4 separate regions of the Homo sapiens genome follow, and all the other regions are linked to region 4. The links are contacts of gene promoters, found by promoter capture Hi-C in blood cells and fetal thymus (Javierre and others, 2016). All regions are on one chromosome and are shown on one strand. Each heading gives the region's core, a stretch centred on a gene start or on the middle of the fragment in contact. The rest is flanking DNA. Distances are from core to core; before and after follow the strand shown.

Region 1 (4,717 bases), core at 2,204-4,703, 4.1 Mb after region 4:
TTGAACTTGCCATGCATCACTAATAATTTTCAAATTGGTCTTTAGGTTTACATTAGCAGCTAATTTTTTGTGGTACACTTAAATGTAATTTATGATTGGCATCTGTATATAATTAAATGAAAAGCATTGCAAAGATTTCTATTTTGGTATTTCTCATGATCTTCAATTTTTTTTTAGGTGAATCTATTAGGTTTTCTAAAGATAACTATTTTTTTTTTTTTACAAAATATTGGCATTTTAATCTCTCTATAACTGGAGGGTGAATTATTTTTCACCAGAGTAAAACAGGTCCAAAGTCCCTTATCTAAATTCCTAATTTCAAAAATCTCTGAAAACAAAGTTTTTTCATAACTCATTTGGCAACAAACCCCACCTGAATTACATGAGGCTATTTGTGGTATTTATCGCACTTCAATGTGAATATGAATATATTTTGCCACAGATGTATCAATATATTTGATTCTAAACTGCTTCCTCAGACCCTCTTAATGTGTTACATAATGTAAAGTATATGCCCATATTTCCTTTCAAAAATCTGAAAAATTGTGAATATCAAACACATCTGTCTTAAAAGGTTTCAGAAAAGGGACAATAGACCTATATTTCCATTCTCTTAACAAGTTCACAAAGTGGTATTATGATCCAAATTTAATCTAAATAATTTCCAAAACAAAAATTTTCAGGTCCTTAGTTTTCTAAATTATTTTAATATTAAAAATATTCATTATTCATTTTAACCTGTAGTAACAACAGGAGATACTTTGAAATGCTTGATTTTATCAAGCCACTAGGTGGCATCTTTGTAAAAATAAAAGCACATCAAAAGAAATGTTTATTACATAAATAAATGCTGAGATGAATAAAGGTAGATGTTTCATGAGAAATACGAAGTCGTTTGGTGGAATAAATCCTGAGAAAATGCATAGATTTATCATGAAAAGGAAAATGGAAAATGGTATTGTAAAATTACTCTTTCACTTTTGGAATTGAGAAGCTTTTTCCTATTGGTTGTTTTCATTAAGTTTGAATATAAATTTATTATGTAACCAAACTACATTTGTGTGTATGTGCGTGTATGTGTGCGTGGACAGGATTTTGACATGCTAATAACTTTTCCATGCTCCACAGACTACCCAAGGAAGCCTAACTAAGTTAGGTTCCTATTTAAGATTAAATTGTATAAAGTCATCCTCACAGCAAACTACAAAAAAAAATGAATAGTGGCTATCAAGTCACATTTAACACTGTGAGACACTTAAGTTCTCTCCTACCAGTTTTTCTTCCCCCATCTCCTGACTCTATTCCTAAACCTACTGTTTGCATACCGTCTCTAACATTGAGAACAGTGAATGACAAATTTTAAAGAGGAGACCCAGCAAAGTGAATGTTTAAAACCAGTGGAATGTTTATTAGTAGCAGAATGTAAGATAAATTATGATTTTGGAGATGGGAGTGTATGAGTGTTTGTAAAATCTTATCTGCACACCTCCACACCTGGTCTACCCATCCAAGAAAGCCTAATTCTAGTGGTTACCTCTATGCCCATTTTTCCCCTTTACTTTTCATGAATGTGTGGAAATGATTAAAATGAATTTACTTTTACTGATCATTATTAAAACAAAGCCAATTTTATCTGAATATATATTTCACTATTCTAGTAAAAATATATTTTAAAATGGGATGACTGAAAAAAATGGCATTGGATATTACAAAGTTATTGGGGAGATGAGAGTGCAATTTCAGCAGAACAGTATAAAGAAATAAATGAAGACAATGAACATTTATGAATAAGGGAATGGACCTGTATTAATTTTATTAATCCTTTTAACATATCAAATCAAATTAAACAGTACTGTAATGGTTAAAAAATCTGGGACCTGGAGTTAGATTGCTTAGGTTTAATCCTGGTTCCCTCATTAAACTTTGTGTGCCTTAGTTTTCTCATTTACAAAATGGGTCTAATAGCAGTTTCTCCCTAATAAAATCGTTGTAAGGATTAAATTAGAAATCTATGTACGGTGCCTCATGACAATGAATACTTCATAAATGTTAGCTGCTATTATGAGATAGCAACATGTAGTTTGTTACTAAATTTCCAAGAGGAACATACTTGACTTGACCTCCAATACTATCCTGTGGTTCTTTAAAAGTTTTCTTATTCATTGATAGGCCGGGCGCGGTGGCTCACTCCTGTAATCCCCAACACTTTTGAAGGCGGATTGCTTGAGGCTAGGAGTTCCAGATCAGCCTGGCCAACATGGTGAAACCCCATCTCTACTAAAAATACCAAAATTAGCCGGGGGTGGTGGCGGGCGCCTGTAATCTCAGCTACTCAGGAGGCTGAGGCAGGAGAATCGCGGGAGCCAGGGAGGTAGAGGTTGCATTGAGCCGAGATCGAACCACTGCACTTCAACCTGGGCGACAGAGCAAGACTCTGTATACACTAGAAAAAAAAAAAAAAAAAAGAATTTGTTGTTAGACAAAATTTAGTTTATTAACTAATTTAGTGATTAACAAAAGTTCTTCTAAGCAGAATTATTTGATAGCTACTATCTCCCTTTTCTCTTTGGCTGCCAGGAAGCTGAGAGCCAAGTTGTTAGTTTAACAAAAGCAAGTAGGCACCTGACAGTTTCTCGCCTCTGACTTCATCGTGATGATTTCTCTGACTCGGATTTTTTTTATATCTGTAAAATTAAACTGCTGTCAGTGTTTGGTTTAGAGAGCTGTGCCGTTTCACAAGTGTAAAAGATCTTGGAGAGAAGTTAGTGTCCTGATTCACTTGGATCTAGGTAGCCAGTTGGTAACAGCCTCCGCCTCTGGCTCCTCCCCTTCTCCCTGCCGCGTCCCTCCTCCCCGCCCCTTCGCCTCTGGCCCCGCCCCTTCTCCCTGCCGCTTCCCTCCTCCACGCCCGCTCGCCTCTGACTCCTCCCCTTCTCCCTGACGCGTCCCTCTTCCTGTCTCTTCGCCTCTGGCTCCTCCCCTTTCTCCTGCCATGTTTCTTCTCCCCGCCCCCTCGCCTCTGGCTCCTCCCCCTTTTCCCTATCGCGTTCCTCCTTTGCAGCCCCCATCCCCCTCCTCTGGCTCCTCTTCTTCCCTACCGCGATCCTCCTTCCAGACCCCGGCCCCCAGCCCGCCTCTAGCTCCTTCCCTTATTTCCTGCCGCGCTCCTCCTTCCCGACACCGCCCCTCCGCCTCTGGCTACTCCTCTTCTCTCCTGCCGCACTCCTCCTTCCCGGCCCCACCTCCCCGCCTCTGGCTCATCCCCTTCTCTTCTGCCGCCCTCCTCCTTCCCGGCCCCGCCCCCAGTCTTTGGCTCCTCCCCCTACCCTGCCGCGCTCCTCCTTCCCGGCCCCTCCCCGCTGCCCTCTTCTGGCTCCTCCCCCCCACCCGCCTCTGGCTCCTCTCCTTCCCACCCCTGCCGTGCTCCGGCAGGAAGAGGTGGTGCCAGGGCCGTTGCTAGGATACGACCAACAGCTGAGAACGCGGCGAGTATGGAAGCTGCGTCTTAGGAGCCTGGGAAAGCACTTCGACGAGAATAGTTTGGTTTCGTACACAGGTAGGAGAACAGATTTTGACTGCGGCCTCCTGGTCCGACGCTTAGATCCAGCCTAGAGCCGGTGACAGCCGCGCTGGACTCTGGGTTCTGTGTGCTGGGCAGTGATTCCCACCTGAGCGCCTGGGGCTGCCTAGTCGGTCAGGAATGTTCCGACTTTACTTTAAAAACCGTGCGAAGCATCTCATCTTTCTCGGCTCCTTTTTTGGCTTCCCCTCTCTGATTTGGGACTTGAACCAGCAGCATCAAGCTAGGAGGTACACCTCACCTCACACCCTGGGTGCTTGTCACGGTAATTGCATAGAAGATGTGTGTATAACCCACACCTGGCACTAGAGACTCTTAGCCTTCCGTGGCCACCATTCTCATATTAAGTCGAGAGATTTTAGACTTTCCTCACCTGGCACTCTCACTCCTTCCTCTCCACCCTTGGTCTTTGCCTCTTAACAAACCTAAAAATTCAACAGATCTATTTGGTAGAAGGCAATACTGGATCCCTGCCTCACTAATTATACTACATTCTAAATGTGTTAAGCTTTAAATGGTAGGGAATGAAATGTAGGTGAAAAGGGAGACTTTTTTGTATGCAAACATGATAGAGGTTGCTTTTTAAACAATAAGATTTAAACATTTTCATTTGAATAGATAATACATAAAAAAATAGTTCGAATAGTAAAAAGAATGAAGAGTGAAAATCCTCCATCTACCCATTTCTCCCCATCTCCAGGCCACCTTCCACAGGTGTTTTAGACATACGCAAATATGTAGTTACACCTGTAACATTGTGCATACTCTTCTGTGATTGGCTTTTACACTTAAGACTGTGTGTCCAGTTGTTTTCTATCAATATTTACAGATCTGTCTCATTTATGCATTTATGGATGAATTTATGTATTTATGTTTCATTGTGAGAAGGTGTTTCGAAGCATGTCAGGAAATTTGGAAACTCTCATAAGCAAAAAGATTGATAAATGTCACTACCTAACAATCTAAAACTTTTATATAGTAAGAGAAAAACAACATCAAACATACAATGGGAAATATAAGGGCAACACACAACAAAGGGATATTTAATTATTAGGACTCATAAAACAATATGAGGATGTAAGGAAACAGTCAAGGGGAACTTCTTGGGGCTATAATAGAAAACAGTTTGATGGAATT
Region 2 (5,039 bases), core at 1,459-3,958, 4.0 Mb after region 4:
TTATGGCAGCCTGAGCTGACCCTGATAGATCACGTATAATGTAACTTTGCTGAAGTTATTTGTTTTAATTGTATGTATGTGTGTATTCCTTAATAATCCTATATAAAAGATTATGCAACTGTGAATAGAGATAGTTTTACTTTTTCCTGTCTCTTCTGGATGACTTTTATTCATTTTATTTTCTTGCCTAATTCCCTTAGCTAATATTTCCAATATATTGTTGGATAGAAGTGGTGAGAGTGGAAAAATATTTGTCTTGTGAATGATCTTAGCAGAAAAGAATTGCCTTTCACTCTTAAGTATGATGTTGTGGGGTTTTTCTAAGCATCTTTATCAGGTTGAAAAATTTCTCTTCTTTTCCCAGCTTGTTGTGTGCTTTTATCATGAAAGCATGTTGAAATTTGTCCAATGCTTTTTCTGCATCTATTAAAATTATCATATAGTTTTTGTCCTGTATTCAATGGTACATTAGATTAATTGATTTGGGGATGTTAAACCAACTTTGTATTTTTGAAATAAATATCATTTATTTGTGGTGTATAATTTTTTTTTCATATGCTACTGAATTTGGTTTGCTAGTACTTTTCTGAGTATTTTGTGTTTATTAATAAGGGATATTGGCCTGAAGTTTTATTTTCTTTTTTCTTTCCTTTTTTTTTTTTTTTTTTGTGAGACGGAATCTTGCTCTGTCACCCAGGCTAGAGTGCAATGGCCCAATCTTGGCTCACTGCAACCTCTGCCTCCTGAGTTTGAGTGATTCTCCTGTCTCAGCCTCCAGAGTAGCTGAGATTACAGGCACACACCACAAGGCCTGGCTAATTTTTGTATTTTTAGTAGAGAGAAGGTTTTGTCATGTTGGCCAGGCTGTCTCAAACCCTTGACCTCAGGTGATCCTCCTGCCTCAGCTTCCCAAAGTGCTGGGATTACAGGCATGAGCCACCAGGCCCAGCCGAAGTTTTCTTTTCTTGTTGATTTCTTTGTCTGGTTGGAATCAGAGTCCACACCTGGCTGAAGTTTTTGTTTCTTGTTGATTTCTTTGTCTGGTTGGAATCAGAGTAATACTTGCCTTATAGAATTAGTTGTTAATTGTTTCCTCCTCTTCTATATTTTGGAATAGTTTCTTAAGTGTTATTCTTTAATTGTTCAGTGGAATTTACCAGCGAAGCCATCTGGACCTGTGCTTTTCCTTCTGGATAGGTTTTTTTTTTTTTCTTGCTAATTCAATTTCTTTAATTATGTTAGATCTAGTCAGATTTTTCTTTATGCCTTCTTGAGTTGATTTAGGTAGTTTGTGTTTTTCTAGGAATCTGGCCATTTTATCTACTTTATCTTTTTTAAGCATAGTTGTTCATAGTATTCCTTCTTATTCCTGTTTATTTCAGCAAGGCTATTAGTGATGGTTCTTTTATTCTTGCTTGTATTAAATCTTCTCTCTTTTTTTTCTTAGTTTCACTAAAGGTTTGCCAATTTTGTTGATCCTTTTAGGGAACCAATTCCTGGTTTCATTGATTTTCTTTATTGATATTCTGTCTCCTTCTTTTCTAATCTTTAATATTTCCTTTCTTCTGTTTGCTTTTGGTTTAGCTTTCATTTTTTCTAGTCTCATGCCTCTAATGAAAGGCCTCATCTCTTCCAACTCATTCTCTTCAACTGTTGCCTAAGTTGTTTGTATATCTGAAACATAAATTTGATGGTGTCACTTAGAAGCTTAAAAGTCTTCTCATTGTTCCCATTCCTTAAAAAGTAAAATTCAAATTTTGTATAATGGCAAACAACACCTTTCATAATCTTAACCAGTTTACCTTAACAATCAAACCCACCTTTCCAATCACATAAAATCACCTGGAATTTATATATACATTTTTAACCTCTTTTCCTTTGTACTTGTGTTTTCTCAATTTGTTCTTTTCTCCTACTGACTTTTTAGAAAGTCACCCACGCTTTTTAGTTATTTCCTTTTCCCTGGTACCATCACACTTTGCATCAACTTCTTTTAGAACAGTTACCAAATTATTTATTAATACACGCCTTCTTCATTATTCTTTGAATTCCAGGATGTGAAATCCCATTTTAGAAATTATGTCCCAGTAACTGACACATAGTGAGTGGTCAGTGTTTGTGGAGGTAGGAAAAAGTGGTATGGTCTGATATCATTTCATCTGGAAATAAGATGATGTATTTCAGCCAGTGAAATCGAAAAGAGCGATGGAAAATGACCTCACACTCCATAGGGCTTTGGTTCGTAAGACACAGAGAATACTGATATCCTTGTGCGAAGAACTAACTTGCTGTTGAGAGATCAATTCAGAGGATGCTCAAGCTCCGTTATCACTTTCATTTTACTAAACTGAGAAAGGAAGGTTGAGGAATGCATCAACGGTTAAGCACAGTGCAGGTTCCTACAGCGACTGGAGTTTTTTGGTAGTTGGGAGTGTTTCCCTCAATCTTTGGGCAAGCCGTCAGCAGTGGCAGGAACAGGAACAGACAGCTGGGAAACCCTTTCTTTCCCCAATCGTCTTCTAGCTTAGCTTTAGGCTTGTATGCCCATCGCGCATGCGTCAATTTTTCTCTTTTAAGATGGGCGGGGCAGAGTCTTTGCTCCTTTGGCGATCCTGAAGGGGTGGAGCTAAGCTGTTTCCAGGGTGACAGAGTGGCGACCTCGGTGGTCGATTGAGCAGGTCTGAGAATTGTTCCCAAAGGGTTGTGCGTCACCGAGTCGTTGGCGCTGTCATGGCGGGTGTGCTGAAGAAGGTGAGACGAATGGAGGTCACTGTTGGAATTTAGACTGTGGGGGTAGACTCAGTCCGATAGCCCTACTTCCCGCGGGTGTTGACCCCTACTGTCGCGGGCTCGGCGGTGCTTTTCGGGGACTCGTTCTGCATGCCTTACCGGGTAGGGCAGGTTAGTGGTTCCGCTCCGAGAGTCAGGAAAAAAGCTCCAAACAAGCGAGACTGAGAGACCAGTAGCTGGCTTTAGACCAGTTTTAGCCGGGGGATTCGTGGTTTTGTATTTCCTTAGCGTGCTGGATGTATGGAAACCGTAGTAAACAGCATGAATCGTGTTTTGTTTTTGAACAGACCACTGGCCTTGTGGGATTGGCTGTGTGCAATACTCCTCACGAGGTATGTACCTTTGTTCTTTCTTCGTTCTTGAATTCCCAAGGAAGACTAAATTCCTGTCACTTTGCTTATTGCAGGGTTAACGGGATACAGATGTTTCAAGCCCTTAATTACAAGCCGCGTGAGCTCTTGAGACACGGGCGCTGTCCACCTACTTCGTTGATCCGATGTCACATTTTTATTTATTTTTGCCATGACCTCTTTATTAAGCCAGTTTTCTTGTTGACTTTTTCCTTGACATTTTCATGGCTTCACTTGTGCTTGCTTCTGTCAGCGCCATCTCAAATTTATATCTCCGTTTTCCATCTTTTCTCCTTGCCTTACCGTTTCTGCTTAGGTGCGTTGGATTACATATATTTAGGCTTACTAAAGGTACTGCCCCCTTTTCCTTCTGTTAGGTCTTTTCCATCTGTATTCACGAATGTTTTCATCAAAAAAACCCACAAAATTTTTTTATTCTTCTTGTCCCTTCTATAATCACACCATTTCTTTGCTTCACTTTACAGATAACTCAAAAGAGTTATCTCTATTTTCTCCAATTTCTTTCTTATTCACCCTTGAATGCACTCAGTCACCCTTGGCGTTTTTCAAGTTCACCAATTATCTCCATGCTGCCAAATCCAATGGTCAGCTCATATTTCTCACCTTCATTGACCTAATAGCAGCGTTTTTTGACACATTTGACACTTTTTCCATCACGCTCTTTTCAAGTTCACCAGTTATCTCCATGTTGCCAAATCCAATGGTCAGCTTATGTTTCTCACCTTCATTGACCTAATAGCAGCGTTTTTTTTTTTTTGACACATTTGACACTTTTTCCATCATGCGCTTTCTTTACTGGGCTTCAGGACTCCCCCAGTCTCCTGATTTTTTCCCCCTACTCTTTGGCTTTCTCTTTTTCTGGTTATTTCTCTTATGCCCACTTTTAAAATTTGAGTTAGTCAGGATTTAGTTCTTGGACCTTTTCTTTTGGACCTGTACTCTGTCACCAAGAGAGAGCAAATCCAAATAGAGAACGGTTTTAAATACCACCTATACACTGACAACAGATTTCCATGTAAAGCACTGACCTCTTCCTTTATAAAAGTCCTGAATATTTAATTGCTTAGTGGGCATCTCTATTTGTATGTGTCAGACAGGCAACCCAAACTTAACATGTCCAAAATGGGGTTCCTGATCTTCTGCCTAAAACCTGCTCTTCTCTCAGTCTTGCTCATCTCAATTAATGGCAGCTCAATTATTTTGACTCAGGTCAGAAACTTGAAATCATCTTTGATTCCTTCCTTTCTCTTACACTCCACATTTGTTATTTCAGTAAACCCTCTAGGTTCCACCTTCAAAATATATCTTGATTTTGACAACATCTCACTACCTCCTCTGCTACTACCCTCTTCCTCAGTCACCATCATCACTGATGTGGATAATTGCATTCACTTCTTAACTGCCTCTCAATGCTTGTCACAGCCTCCATTTGGTCTTTTTTTCCAGCCAGGCTACTAGAGTTAGTCTGTTAAAATATGAGGTAGGTCAGATCTCTCCTTTCCTTAAAACTAATGGCTTTCCATTTCACTCTAAATAAAGACAAGTTTCTTACTGTGACCCTCTGGTTCACTATTCTACTGATTTATTTTGTTATGTCTCTACTAGAATGTAGGTTTCATGAAGGCAGGGATTTGTAATTGTTTCACTGCTAGAACTCTGTCACATAGTATGTGCTCAGTAAATAGTGTTAGTTGAATGAGTGTCTTGCACTTCCTATGATTTCATAATAACTTTATTGTCATTGATGTAAAGAACTGAACTCATGGTTTTTCCCTTCTAAATATATTTCTTCCTCTGTGGGCTGTATTTTTCTTGATAGTTTCAGATCTTTCTACTCCCTAGGCTGGGAATTTGGACATCATAGTTGGTATTTCTCTT
Region 3 (4,525 bases), core at 880-3,379, 3.8 Mb after region 4:
TTTTGCCAGGTGTGAACAATGAAGACATTCCACCTACAGACTCTATCCTATCTAGGTCTTAAACTGACAAGAATAAATCCCAGTGGTTCATTACAAGTTCCGTCCCCTCAAAAGAATATGATTCAAACATAGTTTGTGTAATGCCATAAGCCTTATATGCTTGGGAAAGGGTGGAAGGTGGCTGGTGGGGGTGGTAAATTTCATCCCCTGGAGGTCGTCTTGAAGGTCTACTTATTGGAATCACCAGGAGGGCTTCTTAAAACATAGACTGATGAGTCCTATCCCCAGAGTTTCAGGTTCAGTGGGTCAAGAGTGGGGCCTGAGAATGTGCATTTCTAACATGTGATGCTAATGCTGCTATGAGAACTGCTGGCCAGTCTCCCCCAGTCCATTGGGATGCCAGCCTATTTTTTGTCCTGGTTATTTTCACTTTAGTTTCCAACGCTCCTGGATACTAAGCTTGCTTCCATATGCTTCCAGAGTTGCTTTCTAAGACCAAGTGAAGCCTTGACTTAGTGTTTTTGCAATCACTTCATGCTAAAAACTATTATTCCCCCAAATCCCTAAAATATGACACACATTTCTTTTCTCAGACTAGGCCCCTGGACACCTGAGCTCACTCAGGAGGAAAAAAAAAAAATCACTTTATCCTCTGGACTTGAATTAGGTTGCTGGGTCATCTCAAGTGGAGGTCATTCCTTTCTATTGCTGTTGTCACAAGCCCTGCTCCTGCTACCATTAGGTTGTGTGCAGTTTCTTATGTATTGTGTTTTCTCTCCAGGTGCTCTCAGAATACCACATGCTTAGTACTGTGTGGAAGAGTTTGGGCAAGACTGTGGTTTCTCTTTATTTGATCTCAGATCCTGTGTAACTATCTTTGTACCTGATAAAAATTCATATGTTTTTATTTGAATCAAAGGTGGTCATTTGATCTACAAATATACGTTGAATAATGTATAGGTTCAATGTTAAGACTAAAAAGATACAAAGATGAATAAGACATGATACCAGCTCTTAGAGAGCTTTGAGGCTAATGTAGGAGACAAACATTTAAAAAGTAATTACAATTTACAAATGAAAAGCCTGCATATCACTGACTTTGACAATTTATTATATCAAAATGACTTACTTCAATTTGCTTTAATGAATCAGCTAAATAGCTATTTATAGATAAATGATATCAACGTGTATGAACATATAGTACTAACCCATTCAACCATTACCAACTTTCTAAGGACAAGTAACCTAGTTAATGTGGGGGAAAAACACAGTTCTTATTAAAGACTTTGTATGGAGGCAAAAATAAATAAAGACTATTTACTTCCTAGATACAGAGTTTTACAATTTTATTATGTATGTAATATGCATGTAATTCAGTACACAAAAATGCTATCATCTTGATAAAATTGGAAAGCATTAATATTTCATATTATTGCTTTTTCTTAACAAAGACCCTCTCCCCAGTCATCAAACATCCTGAAGTTCCAACTGTCCCCAGTTGAATTCACTAGCTGCTGAGTACCTTTTGAATACTTTTTCTGTGTTCATGGAATTTCTGACCTTATGAATCCGCAGACCCTTAACAACGAGCCTGAAATCTCCAGCTCTTTTGCAGCTAGGGTACAGGTATGTGACCTTTCCCTCATCAGACACACCCATGGGCAACTGTGATTTGAAAACACATAAAGTGAAGAAGCATGTGGCAAAGGGCAGCAAGGATGGCAGCAGAAACACCCTGCTTTTAGAATCTCAGAAGAGATTCTAGTTTCCAATTCCCAATGTTAGCAGTAAATCTATAGTATCTCTGCCCAGAGATGACCACACTGAAGGGCTCACTGGAGTAGTTCCACAGTGAAACTTGGGTGTGCTTTCTAATTGTATAGAATGAGTCAGAAAATCTGACATTTGACCAACAGGCATTCCAGAAAGCGAAAAGAGAAAAAAGGGGAAGAAAAATATGAAAATAACAAAAGAAAAATTTCCAGCACTAAAAGACATGAGTTTTTGGATAAAAAGGGCCTTTGGAATACCCAGTACAATAAATGTAAAAGTATTCCACTATGGTACATCATCAACTTTCAGAATTCCATAAACAAACAGAATTCTGAAAACTTTTAGAGGTCATAAAGACTTATATACAAAAGATCAGAATCAGAATAACTTCAGATTTCAACAGCAATGTTGAAAGTTCGAAATCAATAAAATAACACCTTCAAATACTGAAGAAAACTGGTATTCAACCTGAAATTTTCTACCCTGTTAAACTAATCAACCAAGAGTGAGATTAGAATAAAACTATCAGCTATGCAAGGTCTCAAAATTTTACTATCTATGCACTTTTTCTTAGGAAGCCACTAAAGGATATACACTATCAAAACAAGGGAGTACATCAAGATGGATGACATAGGTTCCAAGAAACAGAGGGTCTAATACAGAAAGATAAAGGGAAATCCCAGGATAGTAACTCAATAAAATTCCAGACAATAGCCATGTAGCAACAGTACAGATTAATATGGGATGATGGATGGCTTTGGGAGACAGGTCTTTGATTAAAATTAGTGAGTCTAATAGATTCCTGATACACTTGATTATGTGGAAAATAATATGAGGAAGGACTTTATAGTTCTTAATATAGAAGAAATAAAAGAAATAAAATTTAAGCAAATTATTGAGGGGGGTAAAATCCAACAAAGTTAAAGTGGTCCAAGAATGTAACTTCTGTTTTATGCTGTTTTAAGTTTTGTACTACTATTTGATTTTTTAAATTATGTGCATTTATCATTTGTATAAAAATAAAAATTGATTTTAAAAATGTTACATGGTAGCAGAGACCATATCCTTGACCCCAATAATTTCAATGTGGTAATGGGGACATGTGGCATCTTCAAATTTTCCCAAGTATCCAGCCTGCCTACTCATTTATAATGTAGATTGACCTTGAGAACATTACAATAAAGAAATCAATGTTGTTCTCTCTCATTTGGAATAATAATAAGCCATTGAATATTCATTAAAGTTAAAGAGCAGCCAGAAAACCATAAGCAGCATCCTGGGAACTATAACATACTTAGCTCTTCAAATCATTTCTTGATTACAGGTAAGTACTAGGTATTTGGAGACTAGGACATATAATGGTAGTAACTATCACTGGTAATTTTGTAGCATGAATAAGTGTTCAATTTTCCACTAACTTCAATAAGAAATCAGAATGATTTGTAAATAAACTATTTATTCCTAAAAAAGAAAGCCCCAAAGAGGTTTGTAGTTAAAATGAATTTAAAAAGGAGAGGCAGAAAAAAAATGGTGTGCTAGCTTACTTTTCAGAATTTAGTTGATGAAAAAGAAAACAATTAACATTTAACTTGGGATAACATGTACTAGAATAAATTCTTGTAAGCATTGCCATATGCAACATTTACATAAAAATGTGCAGATATTTTACAAGACGAACATTTTAGACACATGACATTTCTGGAGGTTGCATGGGAGAAGTAGCACTCATTGCCCCTGCACTTTTTCTGCAAATCCAGATTTGCAGTATTCAGATTTGCTGTTGTTCTGTCTCTATAAAATCAGTTCTGCCATAGCCAAGCAGCAATTATGGCTACAATGGCTGCTGAATGCCGTGTGCTTTCAGCCACCTTTATATTCCCCCACAGTAAAGGGTGTCACTACATTTTAAATTATTAACATTAGCAAGGGGAATAGGGTGTTTCAGAGGACTTTTAACAGTACATAAACAATGACATTTGTAAAGAAGAAAAATATATAACAAAGAACCGTAACAAGAGAAGCTTGCAAAGTACCCATAAGGATAACAGCAGGAATGTATCTGAAAATATGCTCTCATTTCCATAATAAGCTACCCTAATGTTTTCTGTTAAAATGAGGGCTTTACCTTAAAAGATCATACCAAAGAAAGAAGAAAATGAAGTACTAGAATAGATGCTAGTTGAGGTAAGGAGAGTCAAATGGAAGAAATTAAATGTAAGAATTGCCTTTTTTTTGTTATATTCATATACACCGTAATAAAGCTTTTTTTCACAGCCCTCTCCCACTACTCTTTCCTGTCTTCAAAATAGGTTGGTGGTCTACAAGCTCTGAAAGCTGGTATTTCTAGCATATGCATTTTATATGTATATTAAGATAAAACCCCTAGTCTTCTTAACAGCGCTTACAAACTTCAAGATACTCTGTTGAAGGGAAACAGAATGCTTATGTCCTGGATAAAATCCAATCTCTCAAACTGGGTAAAAAAATTTGAGATAAGGAAATAACTTGCCAAAGAAAACAGAGAGAAAAGATGTCTTGTGTTCTGCCAAACAGAGGATATGCTATCAAGAATGAAAGAAAGGACTTGCTAAAACTTTTGAAACAAAAACAGCCAGTACTGCTTGGTCTCAGGATGAGTATGGAAAAATAGAATCCTTTATGTATGGTAAGGAGGGAATCCCCAAATATTGCTTGTTCACAGGCTTAAATGAGTAAGGAAGTCATATTTCCAGTGAAATGTTCATGCTTACAT
Region 4 (4,463 bases), core at 1,191-3,690:
TGCCGTTGAAGACAAGACATAGTTGTAAATGAGCTTGAGGTGACCTGAGCCCATAAGTCCAGAAAAGAAAGACCTTTTCCTAATTTGAGTACTTGCCTAGGCAAAATGACAACATTTCCAAATGGAAAAGGCAGGAATGTAAAATGTTTCTCTTTGCCACATATAAGTCCCATCTCTCCCACAACTTCTCAGACTCAGATGTAAAGACATGAGAATGCGGCCGGGCGCAGTGGCTCACTCCTGTAATCCCAGCACTTTGGGAGACCAAGACGGGTGGATCACCTGAGGTTGGGGGTTCAAGACCAGCCTGGCCAACATGGTGAAACCCCGTCTCTACTAAAAATACAAAAATTAACTGGGCATGGCAGCGGGCGCCTGTAATCCCAGCTACTTGGGAGGCTGAGGCAGGAGAATTGCTTGAACCCGGGAGACGGAGGTTGCAGTGAGCCGAGATTGCACCATTGCACTCCAGCCTGGGCAACAACAGCAAAACTCCCATTTCAAAAAAAAAAAAAGACAAGACAATGCACAGAAAAAGTGAAAAAGTCACTCCCATCCAAAACAGGGTGAGATACACAATGTGTCTGTCCACAAAGAAAAACTTATATTCCTGGTCTTCAATGCCTGTTGGGGGCTCCCTGACTTCTATACCACTACAGAGATCACTCTGTCCCCAAGCTGAGGGCTCAGTTCCCAGGGCTCTGGGTACTCACCATCTTCTGGAGTTCATCAGCAGATTCTTGGACCCGCTCCCGGTCATTACTGTCCACCACAAAGATGAGGCCCTGGGCAGGAAGGAAGGAAGAAAGGAGAAGCAATCACTTCTGCCTGGGACATACCGTAGTGTGGCCCTTTCTGTTTTCTTCCCATTTGTAATTGTGTCAATCCTTCTCATCTAGTAAACTCTACAGAAGTTTACAGAACTCTATAGAAGCTCTACAGGAGTCATGGCACAAACTAGAGACCCCACTGCAAAGAGGAAGTAGTTTATCCAAAGATGTGCAAGGAAATAAAGACATGTTATGAGGGCTAAATCAGGCAGCCTGGTCCCAGAATCCTGCTTCTAAAGAGAAGTCCAAGCTGGGGAAGACTAAGGTGAGTTCTGAAGAGTGAGTAGGGGATAGCCAAACAGAAGGGGTAGAAGTGGGGAAGGGTTTTTTCCTTGGCCTGGGGGCCCAGCCTAGGCCAACAATTCTGTTCTCCCAGCCCTAACACCTTTTCCCGTGGGGTTAGAAAGTCCCCTCCCAACACTCCACCTGAGTGTTCTGGAAGTAGTGCCGCCACAGAGGCCGAATCTTGTCCTGGCCTCCCACGTCCCAGACTGTGAAACAGATGTTCTTATATTCCACTGTTTCTACATTGAAGCCTGCAGATAATTGGAAAAAAAAGATGAGAAAACTCCTGAAAGAAAGGAACTCACTAAAACTACTTAGATTTCAGCAGGGACACAAAACCAGAAGGCAATGATCAAGGCCCAGGGGAACAGAACCCCAGAACTGGCGGTCAACAGGGCGGGGCTAGGTCACATCCACCCTGCCTCCGGTATCCACGTAGAGATACCCTGACCCACTTCTCAAATAGCTGTATCTGGTGTCAGGGTCAGCTCCAGAAAAGTGGCAGAACTGGGAGCAGACCCCGCGAGGGCCCGCCGCGGCGCTCCCGCTCCCTGCTTCGTCCCCGGGCTCACCTATGGTTGGGATGGTGGTGACAATCTCCCCCAACTTCAGTTTGTACAGGATTGTGGTCTTGCCAGCCGCATCCAAGCCAACTGCAACGGAAAGGGGCACAGGGATGGAGATGGGAGCGAGGGAGCCCCCTAGAGACCAGGGAAAGGGAGAGGCCACAACAGCTGATGGTGACTGGGGCGGAGAGCGGGAGCGCCTCCAGGTGCGCGTCGTTATCTACCTTTGAGGCCTGGAGGGCAGTCGGGTGGCGTGAGCCAACTCCAAAGAGGGCGCGGAGCGGGAGAGGACTGGGAGGCAAGGGGCACGGGAGGTAGGCCGCGCTCGTTTTAAAAGTCGTCTCCAAGGGCGGAATCCTCCCTTCTTACCAGCCGGGCTGGGGCGGAGGGAGCTTCACCCCACCCAGGCCCGCAGCTCCGGGTGTCAGGCCCCGGGGTCGGCGATGCAGACCGGGACCCGCCCGAGAGCAGAGGCCCCGGGGCGTTATGAGGTGGGTGACTCGGGGCCAGAGACCCAGGTGAGCGGGGCTGGAGGGACGCGGGGGCGGAAGGGCTGCGCCGGGGCCGGCGCCCCGGTCCGGGCCGCGCGCTCGATCTGCCTCACCCATGAGAATCCGCATCTGCTTCTTCCCGAAGATCCGCGAAAAGAGCGCGGACACGGTGAGGCCCATGGCGGGGCCCGGGGAGGGGCGCGGGCACCGACGCGGGGTGCGGGCTGGAACTGGCCGGCCGCGGGGGGATGGGGCGCAGCAGCAGCAGGAGGAGGCTCCGCCGCCGCCTCCGCGCGTCGCTGCCCTCCCGACGTCACCGCGGGCCCGCCCCCGTCCGGGCCCCGCCCCCGGCTCTCGGCCCCGCCTCCCCCGGCTCTGGCTCCTAGGGGAGCTGAAGCTCCGCGAGTTGCCGCTGCTGGCCTGGGTCCCGTGCGGCCCTTACTTGGGAACGGGTCTAGGTCTCTAACGCGCCTGCCAGGCCTGTGGCCGCCGAACCGGCAGCCCGAGCGCGGCTGAGGAAAGGATTCATCGCTCCGCAGCGGCCCCTGCCCCCATTTTCAGTGGCCGGCCGCTGGGCTTTGGTTTGTTGCGTCCAGGCCCCTAGGGGCTCCGGTTTTAGCCCTTGGGAACCAGTAGCACTGAACGTGTGCACCACTCTCCTTTGGGGAGTGGAAGCTGCGATTAGGGGTCTTGGTCCTCCCTTTACTGCCTCATCTTCCACCGAGGGACTTGCGCGTAGTAGGTGGTCGTGTGAAGAGTGCGCGGGAGGTAGGGGAAGGTGCCCGAGTGCTAGCTAGCTTCCATGGTTCCTCAAAACGCCTACTTCCTAATTCCCAATCCGCAGAACCAGTGTAAGATTCCCGGCCTTGGGCGGCGGGGTCACAGACCCACTCCTGGGCTGTTGGAGAAGTCCACCTTCGTTTGGATCGCCCTGCGGGCCCCGCCTCTCAGTCCAGGCGCTGGCCGCTTTGCCGAAGTTCCTCACTTTGCCACAGACTTGTGGACCTGGCTTATTCTTGCACATCCATTCAGGATTTTGTGAAGATCTTGACTCCGTAGACCCAAAGAGCTTCACATGTCATTTCCCTGCCTCATTTTAACATCTGAGAGGAGAATAGCAAAATAGGAATGAAATTCTTCTGCGGTGGAGACTGGCTCATTGCCAGGCATTATTAGGCCTAACAAATGCTTGTTCAGTTGAACTGGACTGATAGATTCTCAATGGAGCGAGGGTAGGTGTTATGTCTACTCTGGATTCCCAGTGGGCTTCTAGGATCAATTGTTTATGGACTCGAGGTAAACTGAGCTGGGAATAAAAAAACCTTCACTCATTCATTTGCTTTTTCAGCAGATATTTACTGAGCACCCACCACTTGCCAGCACGTGATTTCAGGCTTTAGTTCAAATCTTAATTCTGCCATTTCTTGAGGATTTGGCTTCAGCACTCCTCATAACTCTTCCGTTATTTCATCATCTATAAAATGAGACTTGTTCTAACTTAAGGGGTTATGGTGAATCTTAAAATGATTTGATAATGTGACTGAATGTTATGTATAATACAGCTTGATGTTATTTGGGCCACTGAGAAACGGGGTCTGAACAGACCTCCAGGGCCTGCCCCATCCTGATCTGCAAAGTCTGTAACAAGGACAGACTTTGGGAAACAGGTATGAGTGAGTGAATGACTTTCCTTTTCTCTTCAGTCATAGACTTGCATCCCTAAGAAGGCTTTTACGAGGCTGAAGAGTACATTTTAGAGAGTTCCAATATAATAACAGAACTAGTGTTCACCAAGTTAGGTCAATTCTACATTTAGCTCTTTTATCAGCCTCTTTGCTTCCATCTCTGTTGTCACTACCTTCTGTTCCCCATGACTGAAAGTCTCCTCACAGGTTTCCTGCCCCTTGTTCCCTCCAACATGTCATACAAGTCTTGATGACATCCCACTTTTCAGATTAAAATCCATTAGGGCCTTACTATAACCCAAGATAAAATTTAAATGCCATAAGTTGGGTCCCTACCTATTGTGCCAGCCCCTCTGTTGTCACCTCCTTCACATACCCTAAGCTACTGAATGCTTTCTGGGTGAGTCAAACTCCGATACCCTACAGGTCTTTGCATTTTTTTCCACCTGCCTGGAATGCTAGTTTCCCTGATCTCTGGTTAGGTGGACAATCACGACTCATCCTTCAAATCCCAAAGTATTATTCCCAAGAGCCTTCCATGCCTCACCTAGACAGGCCTCTTTCCTCTTAACTTTCATACCACTTTGAATATACCCAGACATACTG

What was found. The method cuts DNA at HindIII sites, captures the fragments that hold promoters and counts their contacts. A CHiCAGO score of 5 or more calls a contact.
Region 1: a contact is called between the fragment with the promoter of IQUB here and the fragment with the promoter of ARF5 in region 4, in 4 of 17 cell types (non-activated CD4 T cells, total CD4 T cells, total B cells and 1 more). The highest score is 12.2, in non-activated CD4 T cells.
Region 2: the fragment with the promoter of NDUFA5 here is called in contact with the fragment with the promoter of ARF5 in region 4 in 1 of 17 cell types (total CD4 T cells); the score reaches 7.6 in total CD4 T cells.
Region 3: a fragment that was not itself captured here is called in contact with the fragment with the promoter of ARF5 in region 4 in 1 of 17 cell types (M0 macrophages); the score reaches 5.3 in M0 macrophages.

The regions. Positions count from the first base shown.
Region 1 is chr7:123,533,331-123,538,047 of GRCh38, reverse strand. IQUB (IQ motif and ubiquitin domain containing) reads left to right here and starts at 3,453. Exons shown (of 13, transcript NM_178827.5): 1 at 3,453-3,556. It overlaps LOC124901740 (a long non-coding RNA gene), which reads right to left and starts at 3,517. Exons shown (of 2, transcript XR_007060507.1): 1 at 2,623-3,517; 2 at 1,789-2,443. It overlaps NDUFA5 (NADH:ubiquinone oxidoreductase subunit A5), which reads left to right. Exons shown (of 5, transcript NM_005000.5): 5 at 1-1,051. RefSeq lists an enhancer at 2,567-2,706 and silencers at 2,777-2,906, 2,987-3,136, 3,157-3,386. The HindIII fragment of the contact is 3,094 bases long and covers 997-4,090 here.
Region 2 is chr7:123,555,487-123,560,525 of GRCh38, reverse strand. NDUFA5 (NADH:ubiquinone oxidoreductase subunit A5) reads left to right here and starts at 2,708. Exons shown (of 5, transcript NM_005000.5): 1 at 2,708-2,751; 2 at 3,078-3,122. The coding sequence starts at 2,731. RefSeq lists enhancers at 2,231-2,370, 2,631-2,680, 2,421-2,999, 2,236-3,435, 3,000-3,578. The HindIII fragment of the contact is 10,047 bases long and covers 1,710-5,039 here.
Region 3 is chr7:123,751,812-123,756,336 of GRCh38, reverse strand. No RefSeq gene overlaps it. Among named protein-coding and RNA genes, the nearest start is that of WASL-DT, 4.9 kb to the right of the region's middle. The HindIII fragment of the contact is 3,335 bases long and covers 462-3,796 here.
Region 4 is chr7:127,586,388-127,590,850 of GRCh38, reverse strand. It overlaps ARF5 (ARF GTPase 5), which reads right to left and starts at 2,440. Exons shown (of 6, transcript NM_001662.4): 1 at 2,286-2,440; 2 at 1,688-1,768; 3 at 1,257-1,366; 4 at 714-785. The coding sequence starts at 2,352. It overlaps LOC105375490 (a long non-coding RNA gene), which reads left to right and starts at 1,005. Exons shown (of 5, transcript XR_007060511.1): 1 at 1,005-1,095. It overlaps LOC105375489 (a long non-coding RNA gene), which reads left to right. Exons shown (of 3, transcript XR_007060513.1): 3 at 900-982. RefSeq lists enhancers at 1,114-1,739, 1,740-2,366, 2,367-2,992, 2,993-3,619 and a silencer at 2,114-2,603. The HindIII fragment of the contact is 7,240 bases long and covers 1-4,463 here.